Regions from separate parts of the Homo sapiens genome. Here regions 2, 3 and 4 are each linked to region 1. Evidence: promoter capture Hi-C in human tissues and cell types (Jung and others, 2019). All regions are on one chromosome and are shown on one strand. Each heading gives the region's core, a stretch centred on a gene start or on the middle of the fragment in contact. The rest is flanking DNA. Distances are from core to core; before and after follow the strand shown. Region 1 holds the start of RCN3 (reticulocalbin 3). Region 2 overlaps LOC107985340 (a long non-coding RNA gene). Region 3 overlaps NUP62 (nucleoporin 62). Region 4 holds the start of HRC (histidine rich calcium binding protein).

What was found. The method cuts DNA at HindIII sites, captures the fragments that hold promoters and counts their contacts. A contact is called where the count stands out against the background at its distance.
Region 2: a contact is called between a fragment that was not itself captured here and the fragment with the promoter of RCN3 in region 1, in 1 of the 25 tissues and cell types used here (dorsolateral prefrontal cortex).
Region 3: a contact is called between a fragment that was not itself captured here and the fragment with the promoter of RCN3 in region 1, in 1 of the 25 tissues and cell types used here (dorsolateral prefrontal cortex).
Region 4: a contact is called between the fragment with the promoter of HRC here and the fragment with the promoter of RCN3 in region 1, in 1 of the 25 tissues and cell types used here (dorsolateral prefrontal cortex).

The regions. Positions count from the first base shown.
Region 1 is chr19:49,525,791-49,530,716 of GRCh38, forward strand. RCN3 (reticulocalbin 3) reads left to right here and starts at 2,213. Exons shown (of 7, transcript NM_020650.3): 1 at 2,213-2,268; 2 at 2,677-2,924. The coding sequence starts at 2,683. FCGRT (Fc gamma receptor and transporter) reads left to right here. Exons shown (of 7, transcript NM_001136019.3): 7 at 220-638. The coding sequence ends at 329. RefSeq lists an enhancer at 2,129-2,707 and a silencer at 2,171-2,290. The HindIII fragment of the contact is 21,368 bases long and covers 1-4,926 here.
Region 2 is chr19:49,221,914-49,226,529 of GRCh38, forward strand. LOC107985340 (a long non-coding RNA gene) reads left to right here. Exons shown (of 3, transcript XR_001753971.2): 1 at 1-342. Among named protein-coding and RNA genes, the nearest start is that of TRPM4, 66 kb to the left of the region's middle. RefSeq lists an enhancer at 4,166-4,215. The HindIII fragment of the contact is 6,440 bases long and covers 1-4,616 here.
Region 3 is chr19:49,913,118-49,917,550 of GRCh38, forward strand. The region is part of intron 2 of NUP62 (nucleoporin 62); the gene reads right to left. It also overlaps a transcript of IL4I1 not described here. Among named protein-coding and RNA genes, the nearest start is that of ATF5, 14 kb to the right of the region's middle. RefSeq lists an enhancer at 1-154. The HindIII fragment of the contact is 9,177 bases long and covers 1-4,433 here.
Region 4 is chr19:49,154,146-49,158,838 of GRCh38, forward strand. It overlaps HRC (histidine rich calcium binding protein), which reads right to left and starts at 1,251. Exons shown (of 6, transcript NM_002152.3): 1 at 1-1,251. The coding sequence starts at 1,092. It overlaps TRPM4 (transient receptor potential cation channel subfamily M member 4), which reads left to right and starts at 3,647. Exons shown (of 25, transcript NM_017636.4): 1 at 3,647-3,745; 2 at 4,047-4,114. The coding sequence starts at 3,722. RefSeq lists an enhancer at 3,381-4,002 and a silencer at 4,686-4,693. The HindIII fragment of the contact is 31,868 bases long and covers 1-4,693 here.

The DNA of each region.
Region 1 (4,926 bases), core at 963-3,462:
GGTGCGGACAGAGGGAGGGGGAGACAGACCCAGAGGAGGGAGGCAAAGATGTAGAAAGAGGGGGGACGGAAAATTGGGAGAAGGGGAGACAAAGGCCCAGAAGGAAGGGGATAGAGACTGAGGAAGAGTGTGTGAGACACACACACAAATGGGGGACGCCAGTCAGACCCAGAGCGCCTCAGAGATTCTGATGACCTCTCCCTCTCTCTCTCTCCTCAGCCCCTTGGATCTCCCTTCGTGGAGACGACACCGGGGTCCTCCTGCCCACCCCAGGGGAGGCCCAGGATGCTGATTTGAAGGATGTAAATGTGATTCCAGCCACCGCCTGACCATCCGCCATTCCGACTGCTAAAAGCGAATGTAGTCAGGCCCCTTTCATGCTGTGAGACCTCCTGGAACACTGGCATCTCTGAGCCTCCAGAAGGGGTTCTGGGCCTAGTTGTCCTCCCTCTGGAGCCCCGTCCTGTGGTCTGCCTCAGTTTCCCCTCCTAATACATATGGCTGTTTTCCACCTCGATAATATAACACGAGTTTGGGCCCGAATCAGTGTGTTCTCATCATTTTTCAGGCAGGGGAGGTAAGGGAATAAGTCGGGGGACTGAATGGCGGCTGGGCCTCGGATCTCTCCTACAGGTAACATGCTGCCACAGGGGAACCTGCCAGTTTTATACATCAGGTCATGTATTTTCTTTTTCTTTTTCTTTTTTCTTTTTTTTTAGACGGAGTCTTGCTCTGTTGCTCAGTCCGGAGTCCTGTGGCGCGATCTCGGCTCACTGTAAGCTCCGCCTCCCTGGGTTCACGCCATTCTCCTGCCTCAGGCTCCCGAGTAGCTGGGACTACAGGCGCCTGCCACCATGCCTGGCTAATTTTTTGTATTTTTAGTACAGACGGGGTTTCACCATGTTAGCCAGGATGGTCTCGATCTCCTGACCTCATGATCCACCCGCCTCTGCCTCCCAAAGGGGTGGGATTACAAGTGTGAGCCACCGCGCCCGGCCTAAGGTCACTTTTTTTTTTTTTTTTTAAGACAGAGTTTTGCTCTTGTTGCTCAGACTGGAGTACAATTGCGTGATCTCAGCTCACTGCAACCTCCGCCTCCCAGGTTCAAGCAATTCTCCTGCCTCCCAAGTAGCTGGGATTACAGGCATGCACCACCACACCCGGCTAATTTTTTGTATTTAGTAGAGACGGGGTTTCACCATGTTGGTCAGGCTGGTCTGGAACTCCTGACCTCAGGTGATCCACCTGCCTCAGCTTCCCAAAGTTCTGGGATTACAGGCATTGAGCTACTGTGCTCAACCTGAGGTCATGTATTTTTAATTCATAACTTTTACAAATATTTACTGGATGACTGCCATGCCAGGCATTTTGAGGAATTCTTGGCTACTGTCTGACCACCTGAATCCTTGGAGCCGAAGAGGAGCGAGGAGCAGTGTTCACTCTTGGAGGAAATGGGATATTTCCTCCGGCCCCTTGATTCTGCTCTCCCTTTTCTTTTCTTTTCTTTTCTTTCTTTTTTTTTTTGAGACGGAGTTTCGCTCTTGTTGCCCAGGCTGGAATGCAATGGTGCGATCTCGGCTCACCACAACCTCCGCCTCCCAGGTTCAAGCAATTCTCCTGCCTCAGCCTCCCAAAGTAGCTGGGATTAAAGACATGCGCCACCACACCCGGCTAATTTTGTATGTTTAGTAGAGATGGGGTTTCTCCGTGTTGATCAGGCTGGTCTCGAACTCCCGACCTCAGGCGATCCGCCCGCCTCGGCCTCCCAAAGTTCTGGGATTACAGGCGTGAGCCACCGCGCCCGGCCTTTTTTCTTTTCTTTCGTTCTTTTTGTTTATTTTTGTTTTGTTTTGTTTTGTTTGGTATAGAAGTGTTGGAACGTACACCTCTTTCTTAAACCATCCTGACAAAGGGAAAGGGAAAAATACATTTCCCGTGAGGCGTTGTGACTAGAACAGCTGGAGGTGGACGGCAGAGTGCCGCGACGACTGCCAGGAGTTGTAGTTCTCCCCGGCCGCGTCACTGCGGTGTCGCCCACCCTTCTTCCCCGGGCAGGCCGCGGTTTCCTTTGTGGACGTGGCGAGGAGTGCCCGCGGCACCCCGTGCACTCATTGGCCCCGCCCCGTGAGACGCTCGTGCGAGCTCATTGGGCGGGGGGCGGGGCTCTGCGCTGCCAGAGGCGGGGCCTGACTGGAGAGCGGCCGAATTGGGCACATTTGCGGGAACGCAGAGCGGAGCGTGGAGAGCGGAGCGAAGCTGGATAACAGGGTAAAGGGAGTGGGTGGGGGGCCTCTGTCCAGGGAGGGCGGCTCGGGTCGAGGACCAGGGTCCGGACTGGGAGCAATGACGGGGAGCCTGCCTGACCTCTCGCTGGCCACAACTATGCCCTGCACCTTGCGTGGGATGTGCGCCACGTCTGTCTCTGTAATTCCCCCTGGCAGGTCTGGGACCCCCCTGAGACTCCGTCAGAAGATTCGGTCCTCCCCATAGGTGGCTTTACCTCTAAGCATCCCGCCCTCTTTTCCCCCATCGCCCGCCCTTTTTGAGCCCGAAAGCTTGCAGCCAACTTCCAACTCCCTGTCCTGTCCTAGGTAACCCCTCCACCCCGCCATTCTCCTATCCCGTGTCTGTCCCCATCCCTGTGACCCCTGACCCCTGGCCTTTGCCACTCCCCAGGGACCGATGATGTGGCGACCATCAGTTCTGCTGCTTCTGTTGCTACTGAGGCACGGGGCCCAGGGGAAGCCATCCCCAGACGCAGGCCCTCATGGCCAGGGGAGGGTGCACCAGGCGGCCCCCCTGAGCGACGCTCCCCATGATGACGCCCACGGGAACTTCCAGTACGACCATGAGGCTTTCCTGGGACGGGAAGTGGCCAAGGAATTCGACCAACTCACCCCAGAGGAAAGCCAGGCCCGTCTGGGGTAAGAGAGACATTCGGTTGGGGCGTGTCCAGAGGTGGGGCTTAGGAGAGAGACGCGGGGGTATCGACAGGGGTCAGAGAAATGGCGTGGACTGAACTTCATTTCTTTGTGAGAAATGAAATTCTACCTTCTATCCTTGGGAAAAAGAAATTAAGTTAAAATTGAGGCCTAAAGAGGACCTTTGAGACCGGGCGTGGTGGCTCATGCCTGTAATCCCAGCACTTTGGGAGGCCAAGGCAGGCCGATCACTTGAGGTCAGGAGTTCGAGAACAGCCTGGCCAACATGGTGAAATCCCGTCTCTACTAAAAATACAAAATTAGGCAGGCGTGGTGGTGGGCACCTGTAATCCCAGCTACTCGGGAGGCTGAGGCAGGAGAATCGCTTGAACCTGGGAGGTGGAGGTTGCAGTGAGCCAAAATTGCACCACTGCCCTCCAGTCAGGGCGACAAAGTGAGACTCCGTCTAAAAAACAACAACAACAATAAAAAAGAGGACCTTTGAGGGCAGCAAAATCTGGGTTAGATTCTGCCCCCTAAGCGCTCCTTATTCTTTTGTCCCAGACATCTCCCCTCCCCAAGCCTCAGTTTCCTGCTCTGTAAATGGCAGGGACTGGTGTGGAAAATGAGGTTTGGCCTTTAAGGAGCCCGGCCAGTGCAGGAGAGTGGCAGAGCCCTGAGTTTCAGGGTGAGCTGGGTGGAATGGAGCCCTGTCCACCCTCTCCGTCCAGGCCTGAGCGCAGGGGGGCGCGATGGGAGCAGCCGCCTTCTTCTGTGCATCCTCCTGACACTGATTGAGCCTGCAAAGGTTTATCGAGCACCTGCTATGTGCCAGGCACTGCTCTAGGTGCTGAAGTCACAACAGCTAACACATCTGTCCTCCTGAAGTTTACACTGTGGTGAGGGAAACAGCAAGAAGTCAATAAGTAGAAAGTGGATCAAATAGAGATAAATGCATCCAAGAAAGATAAAGCAAGAGAGTCAGAAAGTGTGGAGGGGAGAGGTTGTTGGTGGGGGGGAGTTGCAATTTTTATTTATTTATTTATTTATTTATTTACTTATTGAGATGGAGTCTCGCTCTGTCACCCAGGCTGGAGTGCAGTGGTGCGATCTCGGCTCACTGCAACCTCCACCTCCTGGGCTCAAGCAATTGTCCTGTCTCAGCCTCCCAAGTAGCTGGGATTACAGGCGCTAGCCACCACGCCCAGCTAATTTTGTATTTTTATTTTTTATTTTTATTTTTGTTGTTGTTGTTTTTGAGATGGAGTCTCGCTCTGTCACCCAGGCTGGAGTGCAGTGACGTGATCTCGGCTCAGTGGAACCTCCGCCTCCCGGGTTCAACCAGTTGTTCTGCCTCGTACTCCCTAGTAGCTAGAGTCCTAGCTACAAGTGAACGCTACAAGTCCTAGCTACAAGTGAACGCCTCCACATCCAGCAAAGTTTTTTTTCTTTCCTTTTTTTTTTTTGGAGACAGAGTGAGACTCTGTCTCCCGGGCTAGAGTGCAGTGGCGTGATCTCAGCTCATGCAACCTCTGCCTCCCAGGTTCAAGCAATTCTCCTGCCTCAGCCTTCCGAGTAGCTGGGACTATGGGTGCACGCCCACACGCCCAGCTAATTTTTTTTTTTTTTTTTGTATTTTAGTAGAGATGGGGTTTCACTGTGTTGCCCAGGCTGGTCTCGAGCTCCTGAGCTCAGGCAATCCGCCCGCCTTGGCCTCCCAAAGTGCTGGAATTAATGCGTGAGCCACAGCACCCAGCCCAGGCCCAGGTAATTTTTCTTTTTTTTCTTTTTTTTTTTTTTTTGAGACGGAGTTTTGCTCTTGTTGCCCAGGCTGGAGTGCAGTGGCGCAATCTCGGCTCACCACAACCTCCGCCTCCTGGGTTCAAGTGATTCTCCTGCCTCAGCCTTCCGAGTAGCTGGGATTACAGGCATGCACCACCATGCCCGGCTAATTTTGTATTTTTAGTAGAGATGGGGTTTCTCCATGTTGGTCAGGCTGGTATCG
Region 2 (4,616 bases), core at 1,335-3,834, 300 kb before region 1:
GCAGCTTAAAGGGACATTTCATAGCTTAAAAAAGACAAACTGTTGGTCCTGCCACCTCCAACTACAAAGGTGTTGCAACTGATAAGCCTTTTGGGATCTTGAGGACGCCACATCTCACGTGTGGAAATTTCACTAACGTGGCTGCAGCAAGTGACCAGACAGATGGCCGCATTTGAGTGGGAGCCTCTTTAGCAAGAGCTTTTTAAAATCAAGCTCCACCCAGGAGCTCTTTATCTTCTTCAGAACCCACGGGATTACAGACATCTGCACCAGCCCCCGTGGGACCTTGGAGTCCAGGAGAATGAATACCAAGGCATTGATGCTCATGCTCCCTGCTGGCTGGTGAGTAATAAAGTCCCTTGTCTCTGGCCCAGGAGTCTTGTGTCTTCTGGCAACATTTGTGAAACAGTAATGGGCTAGCTTGTTTTATTTTTATTTTTATTTTTTATTTTATTGATTGATTCATTGAATTAGGGACAGGGTCTCACTCTGTCACCCAGGCTGGAGTGCAATGGTGCACTCCAACCTGGGCTCAAGTGATCCTCCCACCTCAGCCTCCCGAGTAGCTGGGACTACAGGTGCATGCCACTATGCCCAACTAATTTTTTACATTTTGTAGAGACGGTCTGGCTACATTGCCCAGAGTGGTCTCGATCTCCTGGGCTCAAGGGATCCTCCTGCTTCAGCCTCCCAAGGTGCTGGGATTACAGGCATGAGCCACTGCACCCAGCCCAGGCTGGCTTGTAAGTAGGACAAAATGAAAGTCCGGACCTGGTAGTGTGGAAAAGGATGGGATGTTGACAGAGGCGTGGCTTTCTGGAATTGGAAGGACAGGGCCTCCATGGGCCTGGTTCAAAAATATGAGAAGAATCCCTGGGATCCAGTAGGGAATTCTCTCATCCAAGTAGAGGAGGATGGCCAGGAATAGAGGTCTTCACTGTCCTACTTGTATTTTTTTTTTTTTTTTTTTTAGATGGAGTTTCACTGTTGTTGCCCAGGCTGGAGTGCAGTGGTGCAACCTCGGCTCACTGCAACCTCCGCCTCCTGGGTTCAAGCAATTCTCCTGCCTCAGCCTCCCGAGTAGCTGGGATTACAGGCAGGCACCGCCACGCCCGGCTAATTTTGTATTTTTAGTAGAGACGGGGTTTCTCCATGTTGGTCAGGCTGGTCTCGAACTCCCGACCTCAGGTGATCCACCTGCTTCGGCCTCCCAAAGTGCTGGGATTGCAAGCATGAGCCACCGCACCCAGCCTGTCCTACTTGTTAATGAGGCTCAGTGGCTACAGATAGGATCAAAATCAGTGGGCAAAACAGTGGGCAAATGGTGCCTGGCTGCACCTGGGTTCTTACCCTTCTCCAGGCAGGTGGAGGAAGAAATGGGATCATGAAAATGAGACAACAAGCCCCAGGGACCCAACCAAGAGGCAGCATGGCTGTGGCCGCTGGGTCAAAGGGTCTCTGAAACCGAAGTGGTATCAGCAACAAGGACCTTGTTATTTGTTTCTTTGTTTTGAGACAGGGTCTTGCTCTGTCACCCAGGCTGAAGTACAGTGGCGCAAACATGGCTCACTGTAGCCTCAAACTCCCAGGGCCAAGGGGTCCTCCCCACTCAGCCTCCCGAGTAGCTGGGACCACACGTATGCACCACTACACCCAGCTAATTTAAAATTTTTTTGTAGAGATGAGGTCTCGCTATGTTTCCCAGGCTGGTCGTGAGCTCCTGAGCACAAGTGATGCAATCACCTCGGCCTCCGAAAGCCCTGAGATTACAGGCATGAGCCGCTATGCCCTGCCTTGCTATTTGATATTGAGCCTTCAGTGGGCTGAAAACATTAGTGAAGATCCCACCCTGCGAGTGTTTCTGGCCCCACCACGGTCCAATTTGGATCCAGTCCACAGCTGGGTGCAGGGCTGGTCAAAGATGCTGAGGACTGGGAGGGCTGAGCCTGGCCATCTGTGGAAGAGCAGAAAGAGAGGGGCCTCTGTGCCTAAGAACTTGCTGGGTCCTGGGAGGTACCTGGGTTGCAGCTCTGGCACTGATCCTGGAGGGAGGAGCCAAGTGAGCCGATAGAGAGGTCAATAATGAAGTTTTTTTGTTGTTTGTTTTTTGAGATGGAGTCTTGCTCTGTCGCCCAAGCTGGAGTGCAGTGGCATGATCTTGGCTCACGGCAAGCTCTGCTTCCTGGGTTCATGCCATTCTCCTGCCTCAGCCTCCCCAGTAACTGGGACTACAGGTGCCCGCCACCATGCCTGGCTAATTTTTTGTATTTTTTATAGAGACGAGGTTTCACCGTGTTAGCCAGGATGGTCTCGATCTCCTGATCTCATGATCCACCCGCCTCTGCCTCCCAAAGTGCTGGGATTACAAGTGTGAGCCACCATGCCCGGCCCTTTTTTTTTTTTTTTTTTTTTTTTTGAGATGGAGTTTCACTCTTGTTGCCCAGACTGGAGTGCAATGACGCGATCTCTGCTCACTGCAAGCTCCGCCTCCCAGGTTCAAGCAATTCTCCTGCCTCAGCCTCCTGAGTAGCTGGGACTACAGGTGTGCACCACCACACCTGGCTAATTTTGTATTTTTGGTAGAGACGGAGTTTCTCCATGTTGGTCAGTCAGGTCTTGAACTCCTGACCTCAAGTGATCCGCCCGCCTCGGCCTCCCAAAGTGCTGGAACTACAGGTGTGAGCCACCGCGCCCGACCAACAATGAGTTTTTTTCCCCTGCCTTTGCTGTCCCCCTGGGATGCCCCCCAGCCCCAAGTTGCTCCAGGGCTGAGGCTGTAGTCCCTGACCCACAGACTTCTTGGTCCAAGTACCTGAATTCAACCAGTCAGGCTCCCAGTGGGAAGGGAAGCTGAAGAGATCTCGTTGGGTGTGGCACCTAGAGCCAATTCAATGTCCCGCTGTGTGGTTTCCACGACTGAGCGGGTGTAATTGGTACTGATGCTTTACATGCTCGAAAAAACTACACATGCCTTGTTATCAGAGGATTCTACCAGTCGGAGGCTGTGGCATATGCCGCCCTCTTCACCTCTACCAGAAACAATGTGGGATCCCAGTAGAAAAGGAAACACAACTGTAATGACTAAATGGCTGCTGGAGTGCTCCGGGAAGCCGTTTCCCAGTGCCACAGTGCCACCTGCCTGACACGGCCACCAAGTACACTCCTTTTAAAAAGAAAGGGCAGCTGGGCTGGGTGCGGTGGCTCACACCAAGAGGTGGGTGGATTGCTTGAGTCCAGGAGTTCAAGACCAGCCTGGGCGACATAGTGAAAACCCATCTCTGTTTTTTTTAAATTAAAATTTTATTTATTTATTTTGAGACAGAGTCTTGCTCTGTGACCAGGCTGGAGTGCAGTGGTACGATCTCGGTTCACTGCAACCTCCACCTCTGGGGTTCAAGCGATTCTCCTGCCTCAGCCTCCCCAGTAGCTGGGATTACAGGCACCTGCCACCATGCCCAGATAACTTTTGTATTGTTAGTAGAGACTGGGTTTCACCATGTTGGTCAGGATGGTCTTGATCTCTTGACCTTGGGATCTACCCACCTCTGCCTCACAAAGTGCTGGGATTACAGGCGTGAGCCACCGTGCCCGGCCCTGTCTCTCTTCTAATAAATAATAAAAAAAGAAAAGAAGGCCGCTATGAATCACTATTAAGCTCTCCTTGAAAGCAAACGCCTGGCTTGTGGTGGCCTTTGACTCCCCAGCCTCACACCCTTGTTCTCGGGTAGGTTAACTGCAGCTTCACTAGCAATACCGGAAATGGCCAAAGGTAAAGGGTACGTCTAAGAGCACAGCTGGTCTGGTCCTCAGGTCTTCTGAGTTTTACATACAAAAGTCACAGCTACCCCTGTTTCTTCTGTTTTCTGTTTCGAGACGGTCTTGCTGTGTTGCCCAGGCTGGAGTGCAGTGGCATGATCGTGGCTCACTGCAGCCTGGAACTCCTGGGCTCAAGCGATCCTCCCACCTCAACCTCCTGAGTAGCTGGGACTATAGGCATGCGCCAGCATACCCGGTTAATTTTTTAATTTTTTTTTTTTCCAGAGACAGAGTCTCGCTGTGTTGCCCATGCTGGTCTTGAACTCCTGGGCTCAAGCAATCCTCCTGCCACGGCCTCCCAAAGTGCTGGAATTACAAGTGTGAGCCGCCGCACCCCGCAGCAGCTACCCCATTTGGAGAAAACTCTCCTCCACTCCCCTGCCTGAGGCAATTCCTCTGGCTCAATGGGGCCCTCAATTCAAACGGGTTCCCTTAAACGGCTGGGCGCATTCCACTATGTTAAACCTAAAGATGTCCACTAGGGGGCAGCAACCACCTAACCCCAACACCAACTCCGGAAGACATTGATTGCAGTTTGGTTGATATTTAAGGTATTCAATGGGACTTTGTAACTTCCTCACTATCTGCGGGTGTCTGGTATTATTGATTGTTGGATCATCTTCCTCAAGAATCAGCTCAAAAAGGTTTCTGGTTTCCCCTTCCTACCTCTTCCTGATCCACACACTTTATTTATTTATTTTTTGAGACAGATGCTCTGTTGCTCAGGCTGGAGTGCAGTGGTGCCATCTCGGCTCACTGTAACCTCTGCCTCCTGGGTTCAAGCGATTCTCCTGCCTCAG
Region 3 (4,433 bases), core at 1,751-4,250, 390 kb after region 1:
AGGATGGCGGGGGAGAGGCGCCGTCCACGCGGGAGGAAAGGCCTGTGTGAAGACAGGGAGGCCCACACAGCAGACATGCCTCTGGGTGCTAAGTGATCTGGTGCTTCTGAAGGGAGATGTTTATGTGTGAAGGAGTGACTTGGCAAGCCTGGGCTGTTCAAATCTGCACATTCCAAAGAGAGAAAATGGCCCTTGACCAGCTCCAGGAGAATCTCTATGTTCTTGAAATGTGCTGCCAGATAAGAGCGCCTTTGTTTACCTGGGGCCCCAGGCCACTCTAGAGAGTCCATGTTGACGCTGTGACCTAGAGTGGGGGCTTTGGGTCATACAGTATCAGCACGACCTCTGGAGGGGCTGGAGTCAGCAGACCTCAGTTCAGCCACACGGGTGCGCCATGTCCTCCCCACAACCCGGGCCGCCACTGCTCCGTAAGCGTTACCACACGCTGTTGCAGGGAGAACTGAGCACTGTCCGCGGGACTCTCTCTACCTGCAGAGGAGAGCTGGAAGCTCGTGCCTGGTCTCCCTTGGGGCTTTTGCATCTCTCCCCTTTGCTGTTTTCAGTCTGTATCATTTCTCCATAATAAACCGTGACCGTGACTGTGAGTAGAAAGCTTTGCTGAGCTCTGTGAGTCTTAGCTCATCACTGAGCCGCAGGGTGGTCTTGGGGACTGTGGGCCACGTGACAGGCGGGAGAATCTGGCAGACCCATACATACCATGCTAACGGTTCGGGCGTTATATTGAGGGAGCCACAGGCGGACTTTATGGGTGTGGGGGATGAACCGTAGGGGTAGAGGCTGGAGGCCAGGTGGCTTAGAGAAGACTGGGAGAAGGTCCAGGCCAAGAGCCTGAGGCCCGAACTGGAACTCAGAGAGGACAGCATCACAATTTGAGCAAAGTGTTAAATTTGCACCAAAACCACAGGGTCTGTCCAGGTTAACAGTGACAGGCCAGGCATGATGGCTCACACCTGTAATCCCAGTACTTTCGGAGGCCAAGGCAGGAGGATTGCTTAAGCCCAGGAGTTTGAGGCAAAAAACAAAAAACAAAAAGCCACAAATACTAGAACTTGGGAAGTTTCTCACAAATGCAAACTATTACGAGCTCTGATCCCGGAATTACCACATTTGCCAAAGGGGAGAGTTTCCTTACCAAAGAAGCTGATGGTGCTGGTGGCGGTGGAGGAAGCAGGGAGGAACCCAAACTGAGGGAGTGTTGCATTTCCAGGGAAAGGAGGAGGGTATGCCTGGGCCTGTGCTCAGGGCTGGGTGGCTGTGACCATCTGTAGTTCACCCAGGCAGGACACAGCTCCAGAGAAGCGCTGCCTTGAGGTCACCAAGGAAAGTGCTGGCAGAGCCGCCAGTCCCTTCCCTTCCTGCCTGCCTGCCCCAACATTTACCCTTGAGTTTCAAACAACACGGCCGCCTTCACAGCCCTGGGAACCCGGAGGAAGACCCGCTTGGGATTCAGATGCGGAATCATCTGAATTCAGGTGGGCATATCCCACCCCCATCTGTGAGAACCAGGGTTCTTTGCTGTCACCCCAGCCTTCGGTCAGCTCTACTACCTTACCTCCATCTGTGATTCTTGTGCCACTCCAAGTCCCAGTTTTTTTTTTTTTTTTTTTTTTTTTTTTTTTGAGATGGAGTCTTGCTCTGCCACCCAGGCTGGAGTGTGGTGGTGCGATCTTGGCTCACTACAACCTCCGCCTCCCGGGTTCAAGCAATTCTCCCACCTCAGCCTCCCGAGTAGCTGGGATTACAGGCGTGCACCACCATGCCCAGCTAATTTTTGTATTTTTAGTAGAGACGGGGTTTCACCATGTTAGCCGGGCTGGTCTTGAACTCCTGACCTCAGGTGATCTGCCCACCTTGGCCTCCTAAAGTGCTGTGATTACAGGAGTGAGCCACTGTGCCCGGCCCCCAACCCCTTTCCTTAGATGCCTGGGACAGGAGTCTGTGCCTGGGAAAGAATACAGGAGACCTCAGCTTTGGACCAAAAGGAAAGGAAGAATTAGGAAGGATGTGTGCTATGTGTGTGGGGGGGTAGACAGAAAAACGGCCCCCAAACATGCCCACACTCTGATCCAGGACCCTGTCAATGTGACCTTACATGGCAAAGGGACTTTGCAGATGTGATGAAGATAAAGAGGTTACCCTGGCTTATCCACGTGAGCCCCAGGTGACCACAGGGGTTCTTCAGGGAGGCAGGAGTCAGAGGGAGATGTGCCTATGGAAGAATGGACTGAGAGACACTGTGCTGCTGGCTTTGAAGATGAGGGGGCCACAAGCCAAGGAACACAGGCGGCTTCGGCCTCTAGAGCTAAAGAAGGACATAGCCTCTCCCCTAGAGTTTCCCAGAGGAACTACACACCATGCACCCATTTAGACTCTGGACCCCCAGCACTGTGAAAATACATTCGTGTTGCTTTAAACCACTACATTTGTGATGACTTGTTACAGCAGCCACTAGAAACCAATGGCGGTAGGTTGAGGGACGATGGAGAAAGAACAGAATGAAATCTAGATAGGTGGATGGGAATACACAGAGCAGAGCTGGGGTTGAGAAAGGGGCTGGGGTCAGGGGCAGGTCTGCCCTTGTGCATGGAGACCAAGGCGGCTGGTACAGAAAGGAAAGTGAGGTGTGATTCTGAAAATCCAGACATCCCCTGGTGCTGGGGCAACCCTGCCAGGACTGTGGATGTGTGTGGGTGGATTGCCACTGACACCCAGCCACGATAGGCCATCTATGATGGGAGGGAAGGACAAGGTTGCCTCCGAACACAGAGGAAGGCTAACGGTGGGGATGGTGTCGGCTCCACTGGGCCAGATTTCCGTTTGTTCCCTGCTGTATTCGCAGCACCTGCAGCAGTGCCTGGTACACAGTAGGGACTCAGTAACAACCATTTACTAGGGACCTACTGTGTAACCGGCACCGTGCCAGAGCACTGCACTGCAGCACACCGAGCCCTTCCTGGGTGGGAAACAAGTGCAGACTCCCCAAGGCCACCCAGCAAACAGCAGACCCATGATGGGAAACCAGAGCTTTCCAGGGCCAAGTCTTGACATTCTGCCTGGGACGGGAGAGTTTCATTGAGGAAAAGATGTTAGAATTAAGTGTTGGCCAAGTGTGGTGGCTCACATCTGTAATCTCAGCACTTTGGGAGGCTGAGGTGGGTGGATCACCTGAGGTCAGGAGTTCGAGACTAGCCTGGCCAACATGGTGTATCTTTTGTATTTTTTTTTTTTTTTTTGAGACGGAGTCTCGCTCTGTCGCCCAGGCTGGAGTGCAGTGGCGGGATCTTGGCTCACTGCAAGCTCCGCCTCCCGGTATCTTTTGTATTTTTGTATCTCTACTAAAAATACAAAAATTAGGCCAGGCGCGGTGGCTCACGCCTGTAATCCCAGCACTTTGGAAGGCCGAGGCGGGCGGATCACTAGGTCAGGAGATCCAGACCATGGTGAAACCCCGTCTGCACTAAAAATACAAAAAAAAATTAGCCAGGCGTGGTGGTGGGTGCCCGTAGTCCCAGCTACTCGGGAGGCTGAGGCAGGAGAATGGCATCAACCCGGGAGGCGGAGCTTGCAGTAAGCCGAGATCACACCACTGCACTCCAGCCTGGGAGACAGAGCGAGACTCCGTCTCAAAAACAAAAAAACAAAAATTAGCCTGGCATGGTGGCGTGTGCCTGTGATCCCAGATAGAGGTGGGAGGATGACTTGAGCCCAGGAGTTTGAGGCTGCAGTGAGCTGTGATCATGCCACCATACTTCAGCCTGGGCGGCTGAGCGAGACCCCGTCTCAAACAAATAAAAAAGTTCTGGGAGGCACTTGAACAAAGGCCCATGGCATTCGGCTGACAGCCACCTGGTGGCACTGCTGACAACGCAGAGCCCAGATGCAAGACGGACAGGGTGCGGAGCTGTCTCCGTGGGACCTCCCCTTTCCCCATGGAATTCGTTATTTCAGATTTGGGGGAAGTATGACCGGTGGAACCAGAGAGACCAGAACAGGGCAGAAAAGAGCAGAGAGTGAGGGAGTGGAGAGGAGAGAAACAAGGGGAGATCAGAGATGGGCTGGGCTCAGCCCAGGGAAATTTGATTCCTGCTGAGGCTCAGACGCCGTCCTCCAACACTGCCTTCCCTCACTTGCCCTCCCGTGGGAACCTCTGGCCAGGACCATCTCCATGAGTGCTAGTGCTGGGATTCTCCGTCTGCAAACTCCACAAGTCTAACTACTCTGCTTCTTAACCGTCTCCTGAATCAGTTCCTCTTTCCTTTGCGTCAAAGAAAATCCCCCTAAACCTTGAATAACAGATCAGCTCCAAGTCTGCCCTTCAAGAACTGAAGTCAACTGACCAACACCTTCCTAAGTGGACCTTAGCCAAGGCAGATGCTCAAGCGGTCCAGGCCAAATGGCCAGACCAGAGTGCC
Region 4 (4,693 bases), core at 1-2,500, 370 kb before region 1:
CTGGTGCCAACGTTCAGTGGACACATCCTCATCTTCTTCCTCGTCTCTGTGGCCTTGGTGCCTGTGGTCAGGGACATGATGGTGGTGTTCACCTGAGACAGCCTCAACCTCTTCCTTTCTGTGGTCTTGGTGCCTGTGGGCCTGGTGTCCATACTCAGTGGAGACATCATCATCATCATTGTCATCTTCTTCATGGCTTCGGTGCCTGTGGCTGGGGTCGCGATGATGGTGTCCATCTGAGACATCTTCATCCTCTTCAATCCCGTGGCCTTGGTGCCTGTGAGCCTGGTGTCTATATTCAATGGAGACATCATCATCATCATCATCATCATCATCATCATCATCATCATCGTCATCTTCTTCATGGCCTTGGTGCCTGTGGCTGGGGCCATGATGATGGTGTCCATCTGAGACATCCTCATCCTCTTCACTCCCATGGCCTCGGTGCCTGTGGGCCTGGTGTCCATACTCAGTGGAGGCCTCCTCTTCCTCCTCCTCCTCCTCCTCCTCCTCTTCTCCTTCATCATCTTCCCCATCATGGCCTCGGTGTCCATGCCTGAGGATATGATGGTGATGCTCACTGGACACAACTTCATCCTCATCCTCGTCTTGATGGCTGTGGCTCCTGTGGCTGGGGAGGTGGTGCCTGTGCTCAGCTGAGTCTTCCGTGTCTTCACTCCCGTGGCCTCTGTGCCCACGGGCCTGCCCACCATGCTCTGCAAAGACCTCCTCACCTGAGACACCCTCATCTCCGACTTTGTGGTCTTGGGACCTGTGGCCTGGGAGTAGGTGCCCATATTCCTTGGAGACATCTTCATCCTCCTTTTCACGGTCTGGGTGGCTCCAGAAATGATGCCCATTCTCTGTGGAAACATCCTTGTTCTCATCTGGATGGTCTCTAGGGCTGTGGAGGTGGTGGCGAAGCTCTGCTGATGCCTCCTCGGAGAGCCCGGCGACTCCAGTGCTGTTGTTCCGGTTTCTGAAGCCTAGCCCATCCCCTCTGAGCTGCTGGGTCATGGCCGGGGGGAGGAGCAGGCTGGCCACCCCAGCCCAGAGGACAGAAGCGTGCAGCCATGGCCTATGGTGGCCCATGGGGACGGACAGGCAGCACTGGCTCCAGCTGCCTCTGCGGCAATGTGGACAAACGTTGGGGTCTTTGTCCCTTTGGGGTTGGTCTCTTTTTTTCTCTGTGTCTCTCCTTTGTCCTTTCGGTCTCTGTCCACCTTCCTCTGGTCCTTGCTGCCTGGCTCTGGACACCCCTCTGAGGCTGTCTCCGGAGCCCCCTGACCCCCCTCTGGGGCCCTCCCTCCCCATTCCCCAGCCAATAGGGTCCTTCCCCTCCCCTCTCTCCAGCTAAATTTACTCTCAGCCCTGAGTTATTCTGGGTCAGTCCCCGCCTGCCTGCCTCCTGCTCCTCCTCCTCCCAGCTGGGGAGGGGACCAGTGAGGGGTCTCTCCCTGGCCAGGAGACGGTGGCCAAGGGACTTGACTTTGAACTACCAACAAGCTCACGTTTGGCAGCTGCAAAGACAAAGGCTAGACTTTTAGCAGGTTTTTGGGGGAGCCTGGGGCACCTGGGGGAGGCAGAAGAGACTTATCAGAGGGGAGAGACTCCTGGGACGGAAGGACTGGGGGTTCGATTGCGGGGTGTTTCCAGCTGGAATGATACGTGCTGGTGAGAGAGTGATGTCAGTATTGAGGCCCTAGAATGGGGGGAAAGGAACATGGCCCCCAACACACGTGCCCATGACCTCCTGTCCCTGGAACTCAGATCTGGGGGCAGGGACTGGGCTAGGCCAGGGCTATAAATACAGCTGGGAGGGGTAGGGGGACTCAGGTTACGGAGGCCACAGCTGTCCCCATCACAGAGGGCTGGCAGGAGACAAGTGGCCTTGCCCGTCTCTGTGTGTCAGTATTTCCTACTCCTCACCCTTCATGACTGCCCCCACTAGGGTCTCCTTTCCTGTTCACGGGTCCTCCTCTCTCTTCAATTCTGTCATCTGCTCTCTCAGGGTCCCTGTCCCTCCTCCATGGGATTGCCTCTCCCTCTCACTCTGGGCTTCTGTCCCACTCTTATCTTAGTGTCAGTCCTCCCCCAAGTCTGTGTCCCTCTCTCTCCCCTAAATCTCTGGCCCCTCCTTTCTGAGTTCCTGCCCTTCCCCCAATTCTTTGGTTTTTGCATCCCCCTCTGCCCCTTGCCTCAGTCAAGGTGTCTCCTCCCCATCTCTGGCATCCACCTCTCTGGGTCTCTGTCCCCACTCTCTCTCAGAGTCTCTGTCCCCCTCTGTCTCAGAGTCTCTGTCCACCTCTCCCTGGGTCTCTGTCCCCCTCTCTCTGGGTCTCTGTCCCCCTCTCCCTGGGTCTCTGTCCCCCTCTCTCTGTGGATCTCTGTCCCCCTCTCTCTGGGTCTCTGTTCCCCTCTCTCTGTGGGTCTCTGTCCCCCTCTCTCTGTGGATCTCTGTCCCCCTCTCTCTGGGTCTCTGTTCCCCTCTCTCTGTGGGTCTCTGTCCCCCTCTCTCTCTGGGTCTCTGTTCCCCTCTCTCTGGGTCTCTGTCCCCCTCTCTCAGGGTCTCTGTCCCCCTCTGTCTCAGAGTCTCTGTCCCCCTCTCTCTGGGTCTCTGTCCCCTCTCCCTGGGTCTCTGTACCCCTCTCCGTGGGTCTCTGTCCCCTCTCCCTGGGTCTCTGTCCCCCCATCCCTGGGTCTCTGTCCCCCCCTCTCTGGGTCTCTGTCCCCCTCTCTCTGGGTCTCTGTCCTCCTCTCTCTCTGGGTCTCTGTTCCCCTCTCTCTGGGTCTCTGTCCCCCTCTCTCTGGGTCTCTGTCCCCGTCTCTCTGGGTCTCTGTCCCCCTCTCTCTGGGTCTCTGTCCTCCTCTCTCTCTGGGTCTCTGTTCCCCTCTCTCTGGGTCTCTGTCCCCCTCTCTCTGGGTCTCTGTCCCCGTCTCTCTGGGTCTCTGTCCCCCTCTCTCTGGGTCTCTGTCCCCCTCTCTCTGGGTCTCTGTCCCCTCTCCCTGGGTCTCTGTCCCCCTCTCCGTGGGTCTCTGTCCCCTCTCCCTGGGTCTCTGTCCCCCCCTCCCTGGGTCTCTGTCCCCCCCTCTCTGGGTCTCTGTCCCCCCCTCTCTGGGTCTCTGTCCTCCTCTCCCTGGGTCTCTGTCCCCCTCTCTCTGTGGGTCTCTGTCCCACTCTCTCTGGGTCTCTGTCCCACTCTCTCTGGGTCTCTGTCCCCTCTCCCTGGGTCTCTGTCCCCCTCTCTCTGTGGGTCTCTGTCCCCCTCTCTCTCTGTCTATCCCTGGGTCCCTGCTGCCCCACCTTCTGATTCTCTGTCCCCTAAGTCTTTGTCTCCCCCTCTTTGGGTTAAATTGTCCCCTCCCTGTCTGGCATCCTCCTTTCTGAGTCTGTTCCCTCTCCGCCACTGGCCCCCAACTCCTTCTGTTCCCATCTCGCGCTTGCCCTTGGAGTCTCCCCTGTGTGTCTCTCTCCCCCCGGCCCGGACCTCTGCACCCCCCAGGTCGCTGTCCCTCTGTCCCCTTATCGCGGCCTGGGACCCGCCCTCTCCCCGCCTCCCGCTTTGGCGTCTCCAAGACTCCCCGCCCCCCAGACCTCGCCCCGCCCCAGGCTAGGCTGGAAAGTGGAGGATCCGGTTTGCTCTGGGCGGGTCTGGAAGCAGAGCCGGCGGAGGGAGCGCCGGGGCCCTGGGCTGCAGGAGGTTGCGGCGGCCGCGGCAGCATGGTGGTGCCGGAGAAGGAGCAGGTGAGCGCCGGACCAGGGTCTGCGGGAGCGCGGAGCTGGGGACCTCGCCTCCAGGCTCCCAGAGAGGAGGGCGCTGGACACCCAGATTCCTGGGTCAGACGGAGGAGGGGGATGGGAGGGTCCAGGTTCCAGGGTCCAGGGCATGGGGGTCGAGACTCCTGAGTCTGGAGCGGGAGGGCGCTGGGGGCCCGGACTCCTGTGTCCGTGGGGAGCGCACGGGGTGGGTGGCTCTGTGTCCCATAGGACAGAACTGGGTGCCCTCTCACCCCACTTCCACCCCTACATTTGTTCCTGTCCCCAGAGCTGGATCCCCAAGATCTTCAAGAAGAAGACCTGCACGACGTTCATAGTTGACTCCACAGATCCGGGGTGAGGAGTTCGCCCCTGGACTGACCCCAGAGGGTCCGCGGCCCGCTGACCCCGCCCGCGGATGGTCACGCCCCAGCCCTGCTCCTTCCCCATTCCTGGACTCGGGGACCTTCCCAAGGGCGTTCCTTGCCGACGCTCTCCCTCTAGGAGCGTTTGGGTCTGTGTAGACACCCCTCATTCCCCATTCGCCATTCTCCCGCTCAGGGTCAGTGTAGACGCTCCAGGGCTCGGTTCTGCTTCTTTCCTCCCCGATGTCTCTTCTATGTGCTTCTGTCTCTTCGTGTCACTTTCTGTGTCTCTGTCTTTCCCTTTTGGGTATTTCTGTTTCATTCATTCATTCATTCATTCATTCATTCATTCATCCATCCATGCAAGAAACCCTCACTCAGCGCTCCCAAGGTCCCTTTAGCCTAATTCAACGGCCCTGCCAGGGTTCCAATTTCCCCTGGGACACGTGCTGTGTGGCTTCGGGCAAATCATTTCACCTCTCTGGGTCCCGTTTCTCATCTGGGCATCAAAAGAGGCTTGATCTCCTGGGGTTATTATGAGAATTAAACAAGTTAATGCTTGTGATATTCC